Regions from separate parts of the Homo sapiens genome. Here regions 1, 2, 3, 4 and 5 are each linked to region 6. The links are contacts of gene promoters, found by promoter capture Hi-C in blood cells and fetal thymus (Javierre and others, 2016). All regions are on one chromosome and are shown on one strand. Each heading gives the region's core, a stretch centred on a gene start or on the middle of the fragment in contact. The rest is flanking DNA. Distances are from core to core; before and after follow the strand shown.

Region 1 (3,503 bases), core at 890-3,389, 220 kb before region 6:
TAGTGCTGACATTCAGAAACTCTGTATTGTATTAACACTTTTAAGAACTAATTTTACTTAATATACAGTGTTCAATATTCCTACGTTGCCTTTGAACTAATTTAATCTGTGTCTTAGGTTGTATATCATGCATACCGAATGAAACTTAATGAGCGTATAATATTCCATTGAGTTAATATGAAATAATTTACATAACTAGCCCCTTGTTGTCAGGTATTAAGGTCAAGATACTTTGCTATTGAACATAGCACTGCAATGATCATTATGCAAATGTCTTAATTTGAAACATTTCCTTTGCATTAATTTCCAATTGTGACATTCTAGATCCACTGCAGAAAAAGAGGCTGGTAAGGTTCTGTGATTAATATTTTATATTTTAAGTTCTTGAGAACAGTGACTTGCCTTACTTAATATTTTAATTCCTAAAATTCAACATTATCTTGTATATGCCATGTCTCAATAAATGCTCATTTAATGTAAATCTTCTTTATCATGTTAATAAAGTATTCCTCAAGATCTTGTTTCCTAAGAACGTTTTAAAAGCCAAGATGATCATATTTTTTTGATATATGAAACATGATTTACTTATATTAACTAATTCCCCAGGGTTATTCTTGTATTCTTGAAATTAGCCCTACTTGTCCATGGATATTATTCTTTTCACATATTGACTGATGTGAGATGTTGGCGTGTCATCTAAGTTTTATTTGCAACAGAGCTTTGTTTATCATTTTATTTTTTGTGCAATCTTTGCCTAGGCAGGTATAAAGGGAGCAGAATAGTGGCAAAATGTTCACACAGATAGAGCAAGTTAGTCACAGAAGAAAGCAGAGGAGATGATCATGTGAAGAAATAAATGTATAGGGGAGAAAAGCAATAAATCATAACTTCAACACACAGCCTTTCTTCTTGGTTTCTTTAAAGACAGCAAAAAAAATATGATGCCAGACTCACATAAATCGAAGTAGATAATGTCATTCTCAAAGAGTTTATCCAGCACTCTCCCATATGTCAATTATTCAACAACTATTTACTAAGCATCTACTACACTCAGGTATTCTGTTGGATGCTAAGGAAATCATGGTGAATAATTTGTTCTATGTACAGCCATATCTTAAGAAGTACATTCTAAGTAGTGCCACTCTTACATTGAAGTGCTGGAGGAAAACAAGTGATTTCCTAAATTACAACAGTAATATAGGCTTAGTGTAAAAAAAAAAAAGAAACAAAACACCAAACTTACACATATCCATAATTTTATTACCATGCTAATATAACTTTTTCTTGTTATCTATAAACTTATAACAAATCCAAAAACATAGTGGTTAAAAACAATTTATTATTATCATTCACAGGGCCTCATGGGCTCAATGAGGCAGTTCTTAATTAGAGTGTCTCAAATGGTGGCAGTCAGAGGGCATCTTTTTTGCCCATGTGGTTAGCTTGGGCTTCCTCACAGCATGATGGTTTCAGAGTGCTCAGACTTTTAAGACAGCATCTGGCATCCTTCAAAGCAAGTGTTCTAAGAGTCGCAGGCAGAAGCTGCAAGGACTTCTTAGGAGCTAGCTTCAGAAGTCACACGGCATGACTTTAGTAGTATTCTGTTGACCAAAGCAGTCACAAATCAGGCCACATTCAAGGGAACAAAGGAATAAACTGCAACCCTGGCTTGTGTGGATATAGGGAGAAGAAATTTATGCTGGTCAGCCATCTTGGAGACAAGCTACCATAATTATTTATCTTTTGTTAGTATGACTTTTCAAAAATTTTTCTACATAACCAAAATATAACCATTAAAATCAGGAAATTAACATTGATACTAACTGCAGTCTAATCCTCAGAACCCATTCAAGTTTTGCCAGTGATTCCAACAAAGTAATCCAGTTCAAAACCACACATTGCATTTAATTGTCAAGTCTTTTTGGTGTTCTTTAGCTTGGAAAAGTTCCTTTGTCTTCCCTTAACTTAAATGACCTTGGCAACTTTGATGATAGCTGACCAGTTATTACATAGAATGTCCCTCAATCTGAGTTTCTTACAATGTCTCTGATGTTTCCTTAAGTTATGTATCTTGGGTAGAAATACCACAGAAGTGTTGTATTCTTCTCACTGATACTATTGGCTGAGGCATAATTTACATCTGTCTCACTGCTGTTGATATTCAGTTAGATCACTTGATTAGGGTGGTATCCACTAGGCTCCTCCTAGCAGAGAACTAGGAATAACTTCCAAATTGCTCTTTAACCCTTTGTAATTAATAAGTGTTTTGTGCAGAGTTATTTTGAAATAGATATCCTGTTCCTCATCAAACTTTCAATTTATTCATTTATTTCTATCTTTATGGACGTACACCTTCCTATTTTATTCAAAGGGATTACGGTAGTTTTCTATTGCTGCTGAGACAAATCACATTTTAGTGGCTTAAAACAACATAAATGCATTATCTAACAGTTCTTTATGTCAGGAGTCTGACACAGGACTCACTGGGCTAAAAATCAAGGTGTTGACAGGGTGGCATTGCTTCCTGGAGGCTCTAAGGGTGAATCCATTTTATTGCCTTTTCTGTCTTCTAGAGGCCACTCACATTCCTTGTCTCCTGGATCCCTTCCTCCATTTGGAAGCCAACAACACAGGTTGAGTCCTTCTCATGCTTCCATCTCTCTGGTTCTCTGTAGTCAGGAAGGATTTCTATTTTTAAGGACTCATGTGATTACACTGGGCCTGTCTAGATAATCTGTATTAGTCAGTGTTCTCTGGAGGAACAGGACTAAAAGGATAGATGTATATATAAAAGGGAGTTTATTAGGAGTATTGACTCACACAATGCCAAGTTGAAGTCCCACAATAGGCTGTCTGCAAGCTGAGTAGCAAGCAAGGAAGTCAGTTTGAGTCTCAAAACCTCAAAAGTAGGGAAGCCAACAGTGCAGCCTTCAGTCTGTGGCAGAAGGCCTGAGAGGCCCTGGCAAACCACTGGTGTAAGCCCAAGAGTCCAAAAGCTGAAGAACTTGGAGTCTAATGTTCGAGGGCAGGAAGCATCCAGCAAGGGAGAAACAGGAAGGCTGGAAGACCCAGCCAGTCTAGTCCTTCCAGGCTCTTCTGCCTGCTTTATCCTAGCCATGGGGGCATCTGCTTAGATCGTGCCCATCCATATTGAGGGTAGGTCTGCCTCTCCCAGTCCACTGACTTAAATGTTAACCTCCTTTGGCAACACCTTTACAGATACACCCAGGAACAATACTTTGCATCCTTCAATCCAATCAAGTTGACACTCAATTTTAGCTATTACATAATCCAAGATAATCTTTCTATTTTGGGGTCTCTAATCAAATCTGCAAATTCCCTTTTCCCATGCAAGATTCCATGTTCATAGATTCCACTGATGCAGGCATAGACAACTTTGTAGGCCATTATTCTGCCTACCACAAGGATTATAATCCCTTATATTAATTATTTTGATGGTCAAATTGTCTCCAACTGGCTATTTGAGTTATCTACAAGTTAGC
Region 2 (3,176 bases), core at 582-3,081, 190 kb before region 6:
AAAGGAGTAACATTTCCCTGTTTGTCAAATTTTGTTGCGGTAAATACTGGGGCTACACTGCCTACAGTGGCTTGAGAGACATCAGAAGTTCTAAACCCATGCATTGCACCTGCTACGCAGAGCCGGCGGGCCCACACAGGTCAGATCCAAGGCCAGGGAAGTCCCATTGCATGGGTCAGGAGGCAGGGCAAGCTCTGCAGGCATTCATGGCACTACAGCTAGAAGCAGGCAGTAGCCAGACCCCAAGCCCTCATGCCGGACTGTGGCGGCTCAGTCCGCAGCACTCACCTGGCGCTCTTTTGCTCATTTTCTATGTTTTATTTTCTAAACAGTTTTTCACTGTTCACTTTTGAGAATTTTTTATATATTCTAGACACAAGTTCTTAGTAAGATGTGTGACTTGCGAATATTTTCTCCCAGTCTGTGACTAGCTTGCCTTTTCATCTTAACAGGGCCTCTGCTGAGCAAAAGCTTTTAATTTTGATGAGGTCTAATTGATTAATTTCACCTTTTATGGATTGTGCTTTTCATGTCAAGTGTAGGAATGCTTTGCCTAGCCCTGGAGCTAGATTTTCTCCTGTGTTTGTCTTGGAAAGGAGAAGAGTAAATTGACTAAAGCAATGTAGGGTATCTGGGCAGAACTGAGGAGTCACTAAGGGCAAAGGAATGGGAGACGGAGGAGGCTTCAAGGTTACTGCTGGTCCCTGGAGGGGGCACCATGGGTAGCAGCTCCTTCCTCTTCTAGCTTGAGTTACATGGGCAGAGCAGATGGTCATCTTGGCAATATGATGGGAGGCTTAGGTTTCTTCCTCCCCCACAATACTCACAGACCCTGAATAAATTGTCTAGTTCTTTGATTCCCTCAGAGCTTTATCCGCAATCACATGTTTTCACTACATTGTCATGACTGACTTCTCATAACAGCTCTGTAGGGAGGACATATTATTATCCCCTTTTACAGAAGATACAACTAAGGCCAGAGAAGGGATGGGACTGAACACAAATCTCCTGATATGGAGAGGAATGACTGTTCTTCTCTACCAGCTGAATCTTGAATTCCGCCACCAGTTATTTCATGAGGTCAGTGGTTCTCAAAGGATGATCCATGGGCCCCTAGGGATGCCTAAGACCTTTTCAGAGGGTCCTCAAGGTCAAAGCTATTTCCCCAATAATGCAAAAACATTATTTGCCTTTTCTCCATAAGCAAAAATTCTCCATTTTCACGTATGATGCCAAAGCAAAGACAGGTAAAAAAAACTGCCTTAGCATGAATTGAGGCAGTGGCACTGATTCTTCATCCCCTCAATCACTCACAGGAGAGGTAATAGCCAGTTTCACACTGATTTCTTAATAAATGGGAAGTCCACACGAAGTATTTCTGCTGCATACCAAAATAAAATGGTTGTCTTGAGGAAAAGTACTTCTGCAATTATTTAAGTTGCAAGCTGAACTATTTTTTTTGCATGCAATGCAAGTTTTACTTGAGATAATGGCTGACAAACTATACTGATTTAGACTTGGGTATTTGGCAGGCATTTTCTTAACAAATGAACAAAGTGAGCCTGTCACATCAAGGAACGCCACTGACTGTTGCCAATGACAACATTTGAGCTTTCAAGTGAAAATTAGAATTTTTCAGAAAAAAGTGTTATTTGCCACTATGCATTTGATAGCTTTCCAATACTTAAAGATGTTTCTGAGGATATCAGTGGTCATATTAATAAATGTGATTCTTTGCTATTGCATAAAGAAGTATGCTTCCAGGCTGGGCATGGTGGCTCACGCCTGTAATCCCAGCACATTGGGAGGCCAAAGTGGGTGGATCACGAGGTCAGGAGTTCAAGACCAGCCTGGCCAAGATGGTGAAACCCCATCTCTATGAAAAATACAAAAATTAACCAGGTGTGTTGGTGGGCATCTGTAATCCCAGCTACTCGGGAGGCTGAGGCAGAGAATTGCTTGAACCTGGGAGGCAGATGTTGCAGTGAGTTGAGATCGCGCCACTGCACTTTAGCCTGGATGACAGAGCGAGACTCCTTCTCACAAAAAAAAAAAAAAAAAAAAAAAATGGGAACAACAGACACTGAGGAATTCAAGGCGAGACAGAGAGGGAGGCAGTAAGGGTTGAAAAAAGCTACTTATTGGGTACAATGCTCACTACCTGGGTGACGAATTCATTTGTACTCCAAACCTCAGCATCATGCATAGGTACATCATGCAATATACCTATGTAAGAAACATGCATATGTACTCCGTAAAATAAAAGTTGAAAAAATTTCCTCCATTCTAATTTCTACTACTGCAAAGATTGATAGGTACAACCCGTATAAACAAAAGCTCTTTTAGAGCCTCAGTAATTTTCAAGAATGGGAGGGGACAAAAATGTTGGAGAACTCTTTGCTAAAGCAGTGAAGTCTCCTATTAGCCACTGTGACCAAGTGAGGCATTATCCAGCATTAGCATTCTTTCTCAGATTATTCACCCACCCTAGGCTTCCATGTGACCCTGAAATAAGGGACTTCACTTCCAAGTTTGGCCGAAGATGCTATCAGGGAATCCAGGATTCTGATTATGGTAACATACCCTTCCCACCTCCTTTTCCTGTTCTTCCTCCTAATGGAAAGGACATGGGCTATGAAGCAAGCAGACCTTGATCTCAGCCTCGGCCCTGCATAAAGTAAGAAATAGTAATGCCTAGCCTTCCTTAGCAGGATTGTTTGGAGGATTAAATAAAGTCATGAAGACAAATCTGTAAAGTGCTTACAAATGGAAGTTACGATCATTTTCTTTCTTTTTTTTTTTTTTAACTTTGAACCCTGAGAGGCTAATGAAGTTATGATGATTTTCTAACAAAGGGAGTTCATTCACATTTATGGTCTATTGATGTGGTGTTTCAAAAAACGTGTCCCAAAGAGGTCTTGCATGTAAAGACAATAGCACTAGTGCACAGTTTCAGCTTGCAAAGAGCTGTCAGTCTCAGGGTAAGATGAGAGTAAACATTGACATGACAGTGTAATGCAGTTAATCTTTGAACTCTTAACCAAAATTTCCCCCAAGCACCCACTCATGCTTCTGGCTACCTGTGACTCCTTCCTTGTTCAGATAACTGAACAAGTTGCCCCTGTGCCTCAGTGAAGGGATGATATAGAAGAATTAGAGAAAAAGTTTTCAAGTGT
Region 3 (3,293 bases), core at 21-2,520, 170 kb before region 6:
CTGAGTCTTACTCTCCTGTCCCAGACAACTGTCCTCCAGATCTGTCAAAATCCAAGGGGTCCTAGGACAGCCAGTCACTAGATACTTCTCGCGGTCACTAAGTTGTGACTAGGGTACTTTACTCTTTTCACATGGTTTTCTAATTTTGCCTGAAAGACCCACTCCTGTGTTAGGGAGAGACATTCTAGCAAAAGCAGGGGCCATTACACACACTAATTAAGGAAACTCAGAAAGCCAATACCCATTTAGTAGAATGGACACCTGAAGCACAAGCTGCTTTCCAGGCCCTAAAGAAGGCCCTAACGCAAGCCCCAGTGTTAAGCTTGCCGATGGGCAAGACTTTTCTTTATATGTCACAGAAAAGACAGGAGTAGCTCTAGGAGTCCTTACAGAGGTCCGAGGGACCAGCTTGCAACCTGTGGCATACCTGAGTAAGGAAATTGATGTAGTGGCAAAGGGTTGGCCTCACTGTTTATGCGTAGTGGCAGCAGTAGCAGTATTAGTATCTGAAGCAGTTAAAATGATAAAGGGAAGAGATCTTACATGTGGACATCTCATGATGTGAACGGCATACTCACTGCTAAAGGAGACTTGTGGCTGTCAGACAACCTTCTGCTTAAATATCAGGTTCTATTATTTGAAGGGCCAGTGCTGTGACTGCGCACTTGTGCAACTCTTAACCCAGCCACATTTCTTACAGACAATGAAGAAAAGATGCATAACTGTCAACAATTGCTCAAACCTACGCCACTTGAGGGGACCTTCTAGAAGTTCCCTTGACTGATCCTGACCTCAACTTGTATACTGATGGAAGTTCCTTTGTAGAAAAAGGACTTCAAAAGGTGGGGTATGCACTGGTCAGTGATAATGGAATACTTGAAAGTAATCCCCTCACTCCAGGAGACAATGCTAGTTATTCCTGTGAACCTCTAGAGGATCTGCACCTGCTCTTCAAGTGACAACCATGAGGAAAGTAACTAGAATCGCAGATGCCCATGGCCCTCCCTTGTCATATATTTCTCTTTACTGTTCTCTTACTCTCTTGCACTCTCACTGCACCTCTTGCATGCTGCTGTACTACCAGTAGCTCCCCTTACCAAGAGCTTCTATGGAGAGCATGGCTTCCCAGAAATATTGATGCCCCACTGTATAGGAGTTTTTCTAAAGGAAACCCCATTTTCACCACCCACACCCATTTGCCCCTGCACTTCAGGCCATACATTTCAATCCCTGTATCTTTAACCTCCTTGTTAAGTTTGTCTCTTCCAGAATCAAAACTGTAAAACTACAAATTGTTCTTCAAATGGAGCCCCAGATGCAGTCTATGACTAAGATCAACCACAGACCCTTGGACTGGCCTGCTAGCCCATGCTCCGATGTTGATGACATCGAAGGCACCCCTCCTGAGGAAATCTGAACTGCGAGACCCCTCCTATGCCCCAATTCAGCAGGAAGCAGTTAGAACGGTCATCGGCCAACTTCCCCAACAGCACTTGGGTTTTCCTGTTGAGAGGGGGGATTGAGAGACAGGACTAGCTGGATTTCCTAGGCTGACTAAGAATTCCTAAGCCTAGCTGGGGAAGGTGACCACACCCACCTTTAAAATATAGGGCTTGTAACTCAGCTTACATCTGACCGATCAGGTAGTAAAGAGAGCTCACTAAACTACCAATTAGGCTAAAAGCAGGAGGTAAAGAAATAGTCAATCATCTATCACCTGAGAGCACAGGGGGAGGGACAGTGATTGGGATATAAACACAGGTATTTGAGAGGCAGTGGCAACCCCCTTTGGGTCCCCTCCCATTGAATGGGAACTCTGTTTTCACTCTATTAAATCTTGCAACTGCACACTCTTCTGGTCTGTGTTTGTTCCGGCTCGAGTTGAGCTTTTGCTTGCTGTCCACCCACTGCTAAACGCTGCCGTCACAGACCCACTGTTGACTTTCACCCCTCTGGATCTGGCAGGGTGTCCGCTGTGTTTCTGATCCAGCGAGGTGCCCATTGCCGCTCCTGTTGGGGCTAGAGGCTAACCATTGTTCCTGCATGGCTAAGTGCCCTGGTTTGTCCTAATCGAGCTGAACACAAGTTGCTGGGTTCCACGGTTCTCTTCCATGACCCATGGCTTCTAATAGACTATAACACTCACCGCACGGCCCAAGGTTCCACTCCTTGTAATTCGTGAGGTCAAGAACCCCAGGTCAGAGAACAAAAAGCTTGCTGCCATCTTGGGAGTGGCTGCCCCCATTTTGGGGCAGCCTGCCACCATCTTGGGAGCTCTAAGAACAATGACCCACCCGTAACAGTTCAATCCCCCACCAATGGGGATTTCTCACCTCTTTGAGGTTCAAATCCCCCCAATGAGGATTTCTCACCTCTTTTTGAGGTTCAATCCCTGAAATTAGCAGAAGGCTCAACCCCTGAAACCAGGGGTGTCTTGCTGTGCCTGTCCTGGAAGTCTCAACCCCTCAAATGAGGGGTGTCTTGCCTTGCTTGCCCTGGAAATCTCAACCCTTCAAACCAGTGGGTGTCTTGCCTTGCCTGCCCTCGGAGGTCGACCTGTTTCCTCCCTTTCCCCCTCTGAAGGTCCCTTGCACACTTCCTATTCGTGTTCTCCTCTCTGGCCACTCCCCCAAGGGAGAATTAGGCCCCTCTTAGCATTGGCGTGCTGGTAGAAATCCCATGGCAGGATCCGCCCTAAGCCATATGAGGTAGTTATGGAACTGCAGAGAGGACCCACTCACTCCATCCAGCAGTAGGACTTGTCACCATCCACACAACATTGCAAGCAGAGTTGTCTGTGATCATTCACGTGCACACACATTCAGCCCTCCAGAATTTGACCACCAAGGAAGTACTTCACCAGCTCCTGCGGCTTTTCCTTCCTTGGTCTGTGCAGAGAGTACTCACCATGGTATGTGAGGATCATTTACCCCAGGTTGCTGGCCAGTTTCTTTCTGTATTGCTTATTCATCACACCAGGTGGGTCTCGGACCTCTACCCCTGAGGCCACTGCAAGAGGCACTGGGGCGCCACCTCATGAAAGAGGACTAGAGACACCCCTGAAGGAGAATGTATCCCTGTATGATTGCCACCAAAATTGTTAGAAATAGATCATTGGTGCCTTGAAGAAAAGTCAGCACAGAGACAAAAGATCTGTCAGCAAGGCAATCTTTACTTTCTGCAGAAAGGGTGCTCAGTCACAGAGCACACCTGAACAAAGAGAGCACACCTGAACAAAGAGAGCACACCTGAACAAAGGAAAAGCAGATATATTTATCCTTACACATTTGGGT
Region 4 (3,573 bases), core at 628-3,127, 190 kb after region 6:
TGTCTTATGTGGGCATGGTTTTTTTGTGCCCCAAAACAATGACAATAGTAACATCAAAGGTGACTGATCACAGTTCACCACAACTGTGTGTAGATAGAGTAATAATAAAAAAAAGTTTGAAATATTGCAAGAATTGCCAAACTGAGAAACAGAGACAGGGAGTGAGCACATGCTGTTGGAAAAATGGTGCCCACAGACTTGCTCAGCACGGGGTTGCCACAAACTTTCAATCTGTGAAAATACAATATCTGCCAAGCACAATAAAACAAAATGCAATAAAATGAGGTAGGCCTGCATCTGACAACTGTCAGGAAATAAGTCTCCTAGCTACCCCTTGAAGGGCAAGTGATTTCTGAGGCTGAGGTGTGGGACTGAAGAAACAAAGTCTATTTCTCAGAAGGCAGTCATCATAATTCTCACCTACCTTGTAGCAATCGTATCTCTCATAGGAGGTGCCCCCAGGAGAGTCAGGGAAGATGTATGGCTGTGGATGCTGACGGTACCAGAATTCTTCCTCGGCCTCCTTCAGCAGCTGGGTGGCCTTCGCCATATCCTTTTCATTCTTATGTTCTTCAAACCGGGCTCTCATCAAACAAGCAAAGTATCGGTATTTGTCTCTTAAACCAAAATGATTTTGAAGATTAGAAATGTTACCTACTCACGTGGTCAGTGTTGCTGTCTGACAGGAGGCTGCACTTCTGATACCTTCTGGATGGGCAGTGGACCTACCCCAACCCTCCCAATGGAGCAGCCGTATCATCATGGCTGCTTCCTCTACAGCCCACCAAACAGCAGCAGCAAAAAAATACTGTATTAAATATATACCCTAACCATTTTTCTCCTCTTACATCCAACAATGGAATGAGGATTTAAACAAAAAAAAAAAAAAAAAAAAAGAAAAGAGCATTCGCAAGAGAAAAGCTATAACCTCTGCAGGATCATTCAACATTCATTGAATGACAACTTCCATTTCCTTCTATCTTGTGCTAGTCACTATGCTAAATTCTGGAGATACAAAGATGAATAAGAAAGGTGTTACTTGGCAGAAACAGTATTGCTTAGCTCATACAGAGCTAGGTTTGTATCCTGACTCTGACACTAGCTGCATAAACTTAGGCAAGTTAAAGTCAAGTTCTAAAGAAACTGGGCAAAGATCAGTTAGGAGGTTTTGACAATAATCTAGGACACAGCTGACGAGGGCCTGAAAGTACGGAGCTGTGATGGTGACAGGAGACAGGGGAGACATTGAGACTTCCAAGTTATGAGAATAGGCTCTCCAGTCAGACTGTATGGGCCTGAATCTTAGCTCTGCCACTACTAGCTGTGTAACTTGGGGTAAGTTACTGTCTTCTGGTCAGGTGCGGTGGCTCACACCTGTAATCCCAGCACGTTGGGAGGCCAAGGCGTGTGGATCACCTGAGGTCTGGAGTTCAAGACAAGCCTGATCAACATGGAGAAACCCCGTCTCTACTAAAAATACAAAAATGAGGCCGGGCATGGTGGCTCACGCCTGTAATCCCAGCACTTTGGGAGGCCAAGGCAGGGGGATCATCTGAGGTGAGGAGTTCTACACCAGCCTGGCCAACATGGTGAAATCCCGTCTCAGCTAAAAATACAAAAACTAGCCGGGCGTGGTGGCAGGCACCTGTAATCCCAGCTACTCTGGGGGCCAAGGCAGGAGAATAGCTTGAACCCGGGAGGCAGAGGTTGCAGTGAGTCGAGATTGTGCCATTTGCACTCCAGCCTGGGGGACAAGAGCGAGACTTCATCTCAAAAAAAAACAACAACAACAACAACAAAAAGGCCAGGCACGGTGGCTCACGCCTGTAATCCCAGCACTTTGGGAGGCTGAGGTGGAGGTCACCTGAGGTCAGGAGTTCAAGACCAGCCTGGCCAACATGGCAAAACCCCGTCTCTACTAAAAATACAAAAATTAGCCAGGCGTGGTGGCGCATGCCTGTAATCCCAGCTACTCGGGAGACTGAGGCAGGAGAATTGCTTGAACCCGGGAGACGGAACTTGCGGTGAGCCAAGATCGCGCCACTGCACTCCAGCCTGGGCAACATAAGCGAAACTCCGTCTAACAAAAAAACAAACAAAAAAAGTCTTCTAGGCCACGGGTTCCTCCTCTGTAAAACAGTGGCAATAACAGTGTGTATATCTTAAGGTTGTCATAAACAGTCAATAAGATAAACACACTTTAAAAAGTGCCTGGTACATCCCAAGTGTTAAATAATGTCAGTTACTAATATCATACTGGAAAGAGAATTTATAAAAACCAGTGTCTAATTATACATGGTGTATGAGTATGTGTGTTATTGGCAAAGGAATAAGGAGCAAATACTTGAGAACAATTCTGAGACTTAAAGCTCAGTAACTGAATTACTAATAATACCATTAGCGGAGGCAGGGAATTTGGGAAAAGAGTCAGAATGGGGAGTGACAGGAAAACAAGTTTGATTTCAAAGAATTTAGATAAATGGAGATTGAGAGAACGGTTGGTGATCTTTTCAATTTTTTTTTTATTATTATTTTTTGAGACAAAGTTTCACTCTTGTCGCCCAGGCTGGAGTGCAATGGGGCTATCTCGGCTCACTGCAGCCTCTGCCTCCCAGGTTCAAGCGGTTCTTCTGCCTCAGCCTCATGAGTAGCTGGGATTACAGGCACCCACCACCACGCCTGGCTAATTTTTGTATTTTTAGTAGAGACGCGGTTTCACATGTAGGCCAGGCTGTTGAACTCCTGGCCTCAGGTGATCCACTCACCTCAGCCTCCCAAAGTACTGGGATTATAGGCGTGAGCCATCATGCCCAGCCAACAGTCGTGATCTAACAAGCAATTCGAACTACAGCTCTAGAGACAAATGAGCGCAGGTGGTGACAGCACTAAATGAGGCTGCCCGAGTACATACAACAACACAGTATGCCTAGGATGGAACCACAGAGAACAGCACAATGAGGGCAAATGGAGGAAGAAATTAAGGCAAGGATTGAGAAAGAATGTCAGATCTAAAAAATGCTGAGCCATAACTGTCATAGTAGCTAGTTTATATCATTTTCCTCTAGAACTATGGACTTTAGTATTCCCAGCTATAGTTCAGTATTGCTTGAATTCTTTTTTTCATGTTTAACTTTTTTTGACACATAATTATTGTACCTATTTATGGGGTACATGTGATATTTTAATACATCCATATAATGTATAATGATCAAATCAGGGTAATTTGGATATTCATCACCTCAAACATTTACCATTTGTGTTGGGATACCTGAATCCCTGATGGCTCAACTTCCTTCATCATCGATTTGTTTACATGTCCATTTTCCCCACTAATCCGTGAGCTGCTGCTGCTCAAAAATGGATTTACTAACATTTATATATTTAGCATAGAGCATAGAATCTGAATTGCAAATTCTGTCAAATCAATAAATAAATAAGGAAAACTCAAGGAAGAAACTAACAATCCCATCACATTGTACTTGGCCATCTTCCTGCCAAATCAAGAGAAGTATGTCAGTGATTTTCTAATAGTCACATATATGCAATCTGGGCTTCGAGGGTACCCTCTGTAAT
Region 5 (3,665 bases), core at 845-3,344, 240 kb before region 6:
ATACCCTCCTAACAGTCCCATAGATACCCATCCTTGCTCCCTCTCATTCACTCTTCCCTGTTGAATCCAGAGGGATCTTTTCCAAAAATGAACCTGATTCTTCCATGTTCCTTTGCCTAATTGAAGCTTACTCATCCTTCAGATTTCAGCTTACACATCACTTTCTCACAGAAGCTTTCAAGGCTCTTCTACATGCTCTTCTCCTACCATATCTTTTTTTCCATTTTAGCCCATGTCATGACTGCAGCTTTGTGTGATTGATGCATTATTTTGCCTCTCCATCCAGATAGCAAGCTCCATGAGAACAAGGCCTGCCTCCACTTTTGCTTGTAATTCTATCTTACAACTTAGCACAGTGCCTGACTCCTTCATTCATTCATTCAACAAATATTTGTTGAAAGCCTACTATGTGCCTGTTACTGTGTTATCCTAGACACTGAGGATACACCAGGGAACCAAACAATGTGAGGGAGATCATAAATGAACATCAACAAAAAGTAAACAAAGAAATGTATGTTAAGCAGTGATGAGTATTAGAAAAAGAAGTAAAGGAAGTTAAAGGAAGTGTACTATTTCAGGTAAGGTGATCAGGGAAGTCCTCTCAGTAGGCAGATATTTCAGCAGAAGTATGAAGGAAGAAAGTCGTGGGCCTCATTGTTATTTAAGGGAGGAACAATTAAGACAGGAACAGTAAGAAAAAGGACTCTGAGATGGAAACTCAAGAAACAATAAGGAGCAGAGCAAGTGAAGTGAACAGTACTTGGAGGTAAGGTCAGAGAAGTTTCAAGAGGTTAGATCATAATCATATAGGCCGTAAGTGACAGACACAGAGATGAATCACTCAGAATCCAAGGAAGTACATGTTGCCCACCTTTGAGAGTGCTGTGAACAGAAAGCTTTCAGCTGTTAGCTCCCTCAGGGAGTGCTTCAGTTTCAGAGAATAGCCTTTCTGGAGCTCATGCCCTTTCCAAGGCAGCCCACGTCTGGGGACTGATCAAGGCAGAAATATAAAAGGCTGTCCATGTTGTCCAAAGCAGGATAACTCTTAAATGCACTATTTCAGCTCCTGAGTGTTGTTTGTTTGTTTGTTTTTTAAGACAGTCTTACTCTGTCACCCAGGCTGGAATGCAGTGGCACAATCACGGCTTACTGCAGCCTCGACTGCCCAGGTTCTAGCAATCCTCCCATCTCAGCCTCTTAAGTAACTGGGACTAAAGTCACGTGCCACAATGCCTTGCTAATTTTTTAATTTTTTTTGTAGAGAGGGGGGTCTCACTTTGTTTCCCAGGCTGATGTGAACCCCTGGGCTCAAGCAATCCTCCTGCCTTTGCCTCCCAAAGTGTTGGGATTACAGGTGTGAGCCACAGTGCCCAGCCAACTCCTGAGTTCTTGATGGCCTTGATGGAGGAATGTGTTGTCAGGCCCAAATTGTAGGTCTTCCCCCTCTGCTCAATCCTGATTCCTTTCTCACCCTTCCACAGGTTTGGATACCAAGGCCATTTCCTAATCAACACCCTGGACACTAAACTCAGTCTCAGAATCTGCTTTCTCAACAAACAAGCAAATGAACAAAAACCTCCAAAATACATACATAAAATGAAATGTCCTCTCTCATCCCTGCCCCCAGCTATCCAGTTCTTCTCACCACTGGGGCAACCAACGTTGTATGTTTCTTGTGTATTATTCACAGATAATGCCATATGTGAGCAAATACCTACCTACCTGCTTATATACATATGTATATATACACATATATAGGTAATGAATAAAGATAGATGACATATATTCATACATTTCTTTTGCTACACATATAGTAAACTATTCACTTTGTTCTAAATTTTAGTTTTTTCACTTAACAACATGGAGAGTTTTCTTTTCTTCTCTCTTTTTTTTTTTTAATTTCTGAGGCAGGATCTCACTCTGTCCCCCAAGCTAGAGTCCAGTGGCATGATCTCAGCTCACTGCAACCTCAACCTCCAGGGCTCAAGCAATCCTCCCACCTCAGCCTCCCAAGTATGTGGGACCACAGGTGTGTGCTACCACTCTCAGCTCCAAGCTAATTTTGGGTTTTGGTTTTTTTGTTGTTTTTGTTTTGTTTTGCTTCGTTTTTTGTAGAGACAGGGTCTTACTATGTTGCCCAGGCTGATCTCCAACTCCTGGGCTCAAGCAATCCACCTGCTTCAGCCTCCCAAAGTGCTGGGATTACAGTCATGAGCCACTGCACCCAACCGAGAGTTTTTTATAATAGTACAGACATTTATCATAGAGCTCCCAGTATTCTTTTTTTTAACAGTTGCATGATATTCCATTGGGTAAATATAACAGTATTTATTTAACCTGTTTTTTATATTGCTTCTGAACTTATACTATTACTTATGTTGAAATGAATAATTTAACCTTTATTTTTTTAAAGCTGTGGTGGATATTGTATATTGGTTTGCTCAATAACCATTACCACTTTCTTTCATTATGCGTTCCTGCAGAGAAGAGTTGGTGTTATGAACTGAACTGTGTCCACCAGAAATTCTTTTTTTTGTTTGTTTTTTGTTTTTGAGATGGAGTCTCGCTCTCTGTCCCCTCAGGCTGGAGTAGAATGGCACCATCTTGGCTCACTGAAGCCTCTGCCTCCTGGGTTCAAGCAATTCTCCTGCCTCAGCCTCCCAAGTAGCTAGGATTACAGGTGCATACCACCACAACTGGCTAATTTTTGTATTTTTAGTAGAGATGGGGTTTCACCATGTTGGTCAGGCTGGTCTCGAACTCCTGGCCTCAAATAGTCTGCCCACCTCAGTCTCCCAAAGTGCAGGGATTACAGGCGTGAGCCACCACACCCGGCCTTCACCCAAAATTCTTATGTTGAACCTGTAATCCCCAGTGTGGCTGTATTTGGAGATAGGGCCTCAAGGGAGGTGTTTGAGGTTAAGTGAGGTCATAATGGTGGGGCTCTAATCTGATAGGACTGGGGTCCTTGTAAGAAGAGGAAGAGACACCGGAGACATCTCTGTCTGTGTACACACAAAGGAAAGGCCAGGGGAGAACATAGCAAGAAGGTGGCCATCTGCAAACCAGGAAGACAGGCCTCATGGAAACTAACACTGACAGTACCTTGATCATGGACTTCTACCTTCCAGAAGTGTGCGAAAATGAGGCCATGCATGGTGACTTACACCTGTAATCCCAGTACCTCTGAGACACGAGGACCACTTGAGCCAAGGAGTTTGAGACCAGTCTGGACAACAGTGAGACTCCATCTGTACAAACAATTTTTAAAAAAAAAGAAAAAAAAAGCTTTGCATTGGTGGCACATGCCTATAGTCCCAGCTACTCAGGAGGCTGAGGCGGGAGGATTGCTTGAGCCCAGGAGTTCAAGGCTCCAGTGAACCATGATTGCACTACTGCACTTCAGCCTGGATGACACAGTGAGACCCTGTCAAAAAACAAAACAAAACAAAAGAAGCAAAAACCAAAAAACCCCAGAACTGTGAGAAAATGAATTTCTGCTGTTTAAGCCACTCAGTCTAGTATTTTGCTATGATAGCCTAAACAGACTAATACAGTTGAAAAAGCTAAACATTACATTTCCAAGACTTCTTTGAAGCTGTAATTGCCATAGTTGTAGCAGCACCTTTGATTGACACTCCTGGAAGCTCAGCCCACAGTCCATT
Region 6 (3,391 bases), core at 146-2,645:
ACAAGCAGTCATCTTGATAGTTAGAATACCAATAGTATTAAAATCACAATAATGATTGGCAGCAAACGATGTGTCAAGCACCCGTTATTGGCAAGGTGAAGATGAGTCGGATGCATTCGAACGCCCTTGGGGACAGGATCCAGCAGGGGTGATCAAGAGATCAGTTACTTCCTGAAGGTAACACCCTTCCGGGTGATTTCGGGGAGACGGATGGGGAAGGTGGGTTGCAGTTAAGAGTTGGGCAGAGTGATCCAGGGGAACATTATCTTCTGCAGCTGTGCTGTGTAACTCCATGCATCCCTTTGATCCATAAAGTTTTCAAAGCCAGACCTTTTCCCATTACGGAGTGAATCTGACACAAGTGTACAGAATTTTGCACTTGGTTTCTTTTGGCCCCACTCCCCCCAGTCTTTTCTTTTGTTATGTTTTGTGCTTCAAATGGTTAGCTCAAGGGTTAAAGGAACTGTCCGGAGTTAGGTGCCTATGTCTTAATATCTTTTAAAAGTTGCTCATTTGATTCTCCTCCCTCTGGCCCATTTGGCGTTCATCTGAATGAGGGCTCCTGGTTATGCAGATAGGCAGTGGAGCTGTGAAAATGGACCACTAGGCCCCAAATCAACCTGGGCACATTTGCGCTCTGCAGGTTCAACCTCCCAGGAGGGCTCCCTGCGGTTATACCAACGCTGGCTGCTCTCAGTGGGCCTGAAAACCATCAACCGTCCAAGTCATAGGCAATCAGCAATCTCGATAGACTGATGGATCGTGGACAGAAGCTCTAACGCTGTTTCCATTCATTTAGCAACAGCAAATCAATCCACTTTCCCAGCATCCTGCAACTTTATCGAACTCGGCATCCCATTGCAGGATACGCCCCCGAACTCTCCTTAATTATATATTTCGCTATTTGCAATCAGGACTCGGCGATGCAGTCCTGACATCAGAGAATGGGCGTCTTCTCAGAAGGCCGCAGTAGCGGCAGCAGCTTTCCCGCCCTACTGAGCGCTCACTACAAGCGGGCTCTGGGCTAGGCGCGCCACCCGTGCAAGTCCCCGGGGAGCGGCGGTGCACCCTCCGTCCCGCGCGCTCGCAGCCATTGTAGGGGTGGGCGCTCGCCAGGCAGGGTGCCGACACGCCCTCTCCGCGCTGCGACGGGCGGCCGGGGGAGGAGAGGGTGCGCTGTGCGCACCGGAGGGAGAGGCTCCGGCCCAGCGCCGCCTGCCCGCCAGCAGACCAGCAGGCTCCTCTTTGCGGCGGGTGCCCCACGCGCCTCTCGGGCGCGCGCTCCCAGCCCCGCCCGCGTGCGGCGGCCGCACGGCCGCGAGAGCGCGCCTCCGCTTGGCGGGCACGGCCGCGAGCGCGCGTGCGCCCCTCCGAACGTCCCCGGGAGCCCAGCCAGAGCGAGCGCCGGGGCCGGGCGCGCAGGAGTGAAAAGGAGGCGGCGGCCGCAGCTGCGAGCAACAGATCCGGACGCCGCGAGCTGACCCGCTCTGCTGTTGGGCGATTTTTTTTTAATTGCAGAAAAATTTATTAAATTGGAAAATCTTGCGTTTTTCAATGGCGCTGGCCCCGGGTCAGCGGGCGATTTTCTCTGCATCAAGATGGGCTTTGCCGTTTCCGTAGTGGGCACCAGTGGTGGCCTGATTGTCAGTCTTCTCCCGGCATTTTTAAGGCCAGGAGCCGAGCGCTGCTTGTAGGCGAATACCCTACAGAGCGGTTTGGCTTTTTAAATTACTGTTATTATTTTGGGCAGAGAACAGTCGGTCTGGTGCACCCCGTCCTCGCTGCAGAAGAGGCTGCGAGTCCGAGGTGGGTCTCTCGGAAGGTGAAATTCCTTCTGGGGTGAGCGAGCCCCGGCCCCGCGCGCAGTCCAGCGGCCCCGCGTGTGTGCCCTCGCCCTGCCGGAGCCGGGAAAATGGAGGCTGTGATTGAGAAGGAATGCAGCGCGCTCGGAGGCCTCTTCCAGACCATCATCAGCGACATGAAGGTAGGACGCCGGGGGTGCGGCTGCGGCGCCGGCCGCCGCGCTCTGACCTCGCCGCCGCGCTTCGCCTCCACCCCGGGCCGGGCACCCGGCCCTTCCCTGCAGTGTGGCCACCGGCCACCTGCGGGAGCTCCCGGCCGGAGTGTCACCTGCTCACCCGGGGCGCTGCTCCGGGCTCTGCGGGGTCACTGGGCGGGTGGCTTCTCTGGGGGGTGTCTGCTGTCCCACGCCATCTCCCCCGCTCATTGTCCCAGGGGGCGGCACCATTTCTTTCCCTCGGGGGCTCAAGGCACTGGCTGCAAGTTTTCCCATTGTCTGTCCCTGAAGTAAGTGTCTGGGACCCGCGGGGGCTGGATGCCCGGGAGGACACCTGATTCCTCCGGGCACGGGGTGGGGGCGCCTGGCGCGGTGGTGGGGAGGAAGTGGGGGCTCTGCCCGCTCGCAGGAAGGAGTCCCCTAGCCTAGGAGACTGAGAGGGAAAGCCAGTCCCTCCTTGGCTGTCAGGTCTACTTGGAGTGGGGTATCTGAGCAAATTAGTTATTAATTGGGCCGTTCCGAAGCTGGTAAAGGTGTGCGTGCCCTCTCTTAGCCCTCCCGCGGGGCGCGGGGCCGAAGTTCCCGGGCAGCCTTGCAGGGGCCCCGCCTTCTCCCAGCTGAGCCTAAAGGCAAGATTGGGGCCCCCGAAATAACTGTATCCTGCCCTCCCAGACCCAAACGGACACACACTCTAGGTTTTCTCTTGGAAGGGTTGTGAAGATGGTGTGTGTGTGCGCGCGTGCATGTGTGTGTGCGCGCGCGCGCGTGGGGGCGGGGAACAACACCCTGGTTTTTTCCTGCAAAGGGTGGGACTGGGGATAACCTGATCCTCGGATGTGGATTTTCTGGTGCCTAGAGATAGACCAGGGCCCCGTGTTATTCATCCAGAGGAAATAAAACCAGCCGCGCGAGCTGGCTGGAGGTGGGAATTGGGAGCGGTGGGGGAAATTATTTTTTTAATGTGTATTTAGGGAGCTTCTCTTTGGCTCTGGCCCAGCCCCAGTTTGCCTCAACAGATCCAGATCCGGGGAGGTGGTGTTTAATTAAAAGCTCGCTTCCAAAACGAGTGGGCAGGTTTGGAAAGCTGTGCACCGAGTGGGTGTGGACAGCCCCTCTTCAGCCGCTGCCTGGGCGCCTGGAGGAGCTTTTGTCTGATGAAGTGTAAGGTTTAGAGAGGCTTCGTGCCTCGGAGATGGTCTTTGGGAAGGAATGCTCAGCTGTCATGGCCTGCTTCCACCTTTCAGAACCAACTGCCACCTCACCCAGGGTGAACTTTATCAAGCTGCCTCTGTCCTGGTTTTGTCCATTTTGAAATCTTTCTACAGCTCTCGTGCCTTTTGTCACAAATTGTCCTTAGCATAGCATAATCTGCAG

Evidence for each region. Contacts are between HindIII fragments. The CHiCAGO score rates a contact against its expected background, and 5 or more counts as called.
Region 1: a contact is called between a fragment that was not itself captured here and the fragment with the promoter of MTSS1 in region 6, in 4 of 17 cell types (naive B cells, megakaryocytes, erythroblasts and 1 more). The highest score is 5.6, in naive B cells.
Region 2: a fragment that was not itself captured here is called in contact with the fragment with the promoter of MTSS1 in region 6 in 8 of 17 cell types (megakaryocytes, erythroblasts, total B cells and 5 more); the score reaches 19.0 in megakaryocytes.
Region 3: a contact is called between a fragment that was not itself captured here and the fragment with the promoter of MTSS1 in region 6, in 2 of 17 cell types (naive B cells and megakaryocytes). The highest score is 5.7, in naive B cells.
Region 4: a fragment that was not itself captured here is called in contact with the fragment with the promoter of MTSS1 in region 6 in 2 of 17 cell types (naive B cells and total B cells); the score reaches 5.7 in naive B cells.
Region 5: a fragment that was not itself captured here is called in contact with the fragment with the promoter of MTSS1 in region 6 in 2 of 17 cell types (total B cells and megakaryocytes); the score reaches 6.1 in total B cells.

The regions. Positions count from the first base shown.
Region 1 is chr8:124,948,914-124,952,416 of GRCh38, reverse strand. LINC00964 (long intergenic non-protein coding RNA 964) reads right to left here. Exons shown (of 4, transcript NR_027321.1): 4 at 1,322-1,601. Among named protein-coding and RNA genes, the nearest start is that of LINC00964, 8.7 kb to the right of the region's middle. The HindIII fragment of the contact is 6,113 bases long and covers 1-3,503 here.
Region 2 is chr8:124,917,460-124,920,635 of GRCh38, reverse strand. It overlaps the pseudogene MRS2P1. Among named protein-coding and RNA genes, the nearest start is that of LINC00964, 23 kb to the left of the region's middle. The HindIII fragment of the contact is 2,716 bases long and covers 474-3,176 here.
Region 3 is chr8:124,898,774-124,902,066 of GRCh38, reverse strand. No RefSeq gene overlaps it. Among named protein-coding and RNA genes, the nearest start is that of LINC00964, 42 kb to the left of the region's middle. The HindIII fragment of the contact is 1,891 bases long and covers 325-2,215 here.
Region 4 is chr8:124,540,131-124,543,703 of GRCh38, reverse strand. NDUFB9 (NADH:ubiquinone oxidoreductase subunit B9) reads right to left here. Exons shown (of 4, transcript NM_005005.3): 2 at 425-617. Among named protein-coding and RNA genes, the nearest start is that of NDUFB9, 2.8 kb to the right of the region's middle. The HindIII fragment of the contact is 4,221 bases long and covers 1-3,573 here.
Region 5 is chr8:124,967,584-124,971,248 of GRCh38, reverse strand. No RefSeq gene overlaps it. Among named protein-coding and RNA genes, the nearest start is that of ZNF572, 3.9 kb to the left of the region's middle. The HindIII fragment of the contact is 2,392 bases long and covers 899-3,290 here.
Region 6 is chr8:124,726,477-124,729,867 of GRCh38, reverse strand. MTSS1 (MTSS I-BAR domain containing 1) reads left to right here and starts at 1,395. Exons shown (of 14, transcript NM_014751.6): 1 at 1,395-1,984. The coding sequence starts at 1,913. LOC105375741 (a long non-coding RNA gene) reads right to left here and starts at 1,329. Exons shown (of 3, transcript XR_002956670.2): 1 at 1-1,329. The HindIII fragment of the contact is 14,334 bases long and covers 1-3,391 here.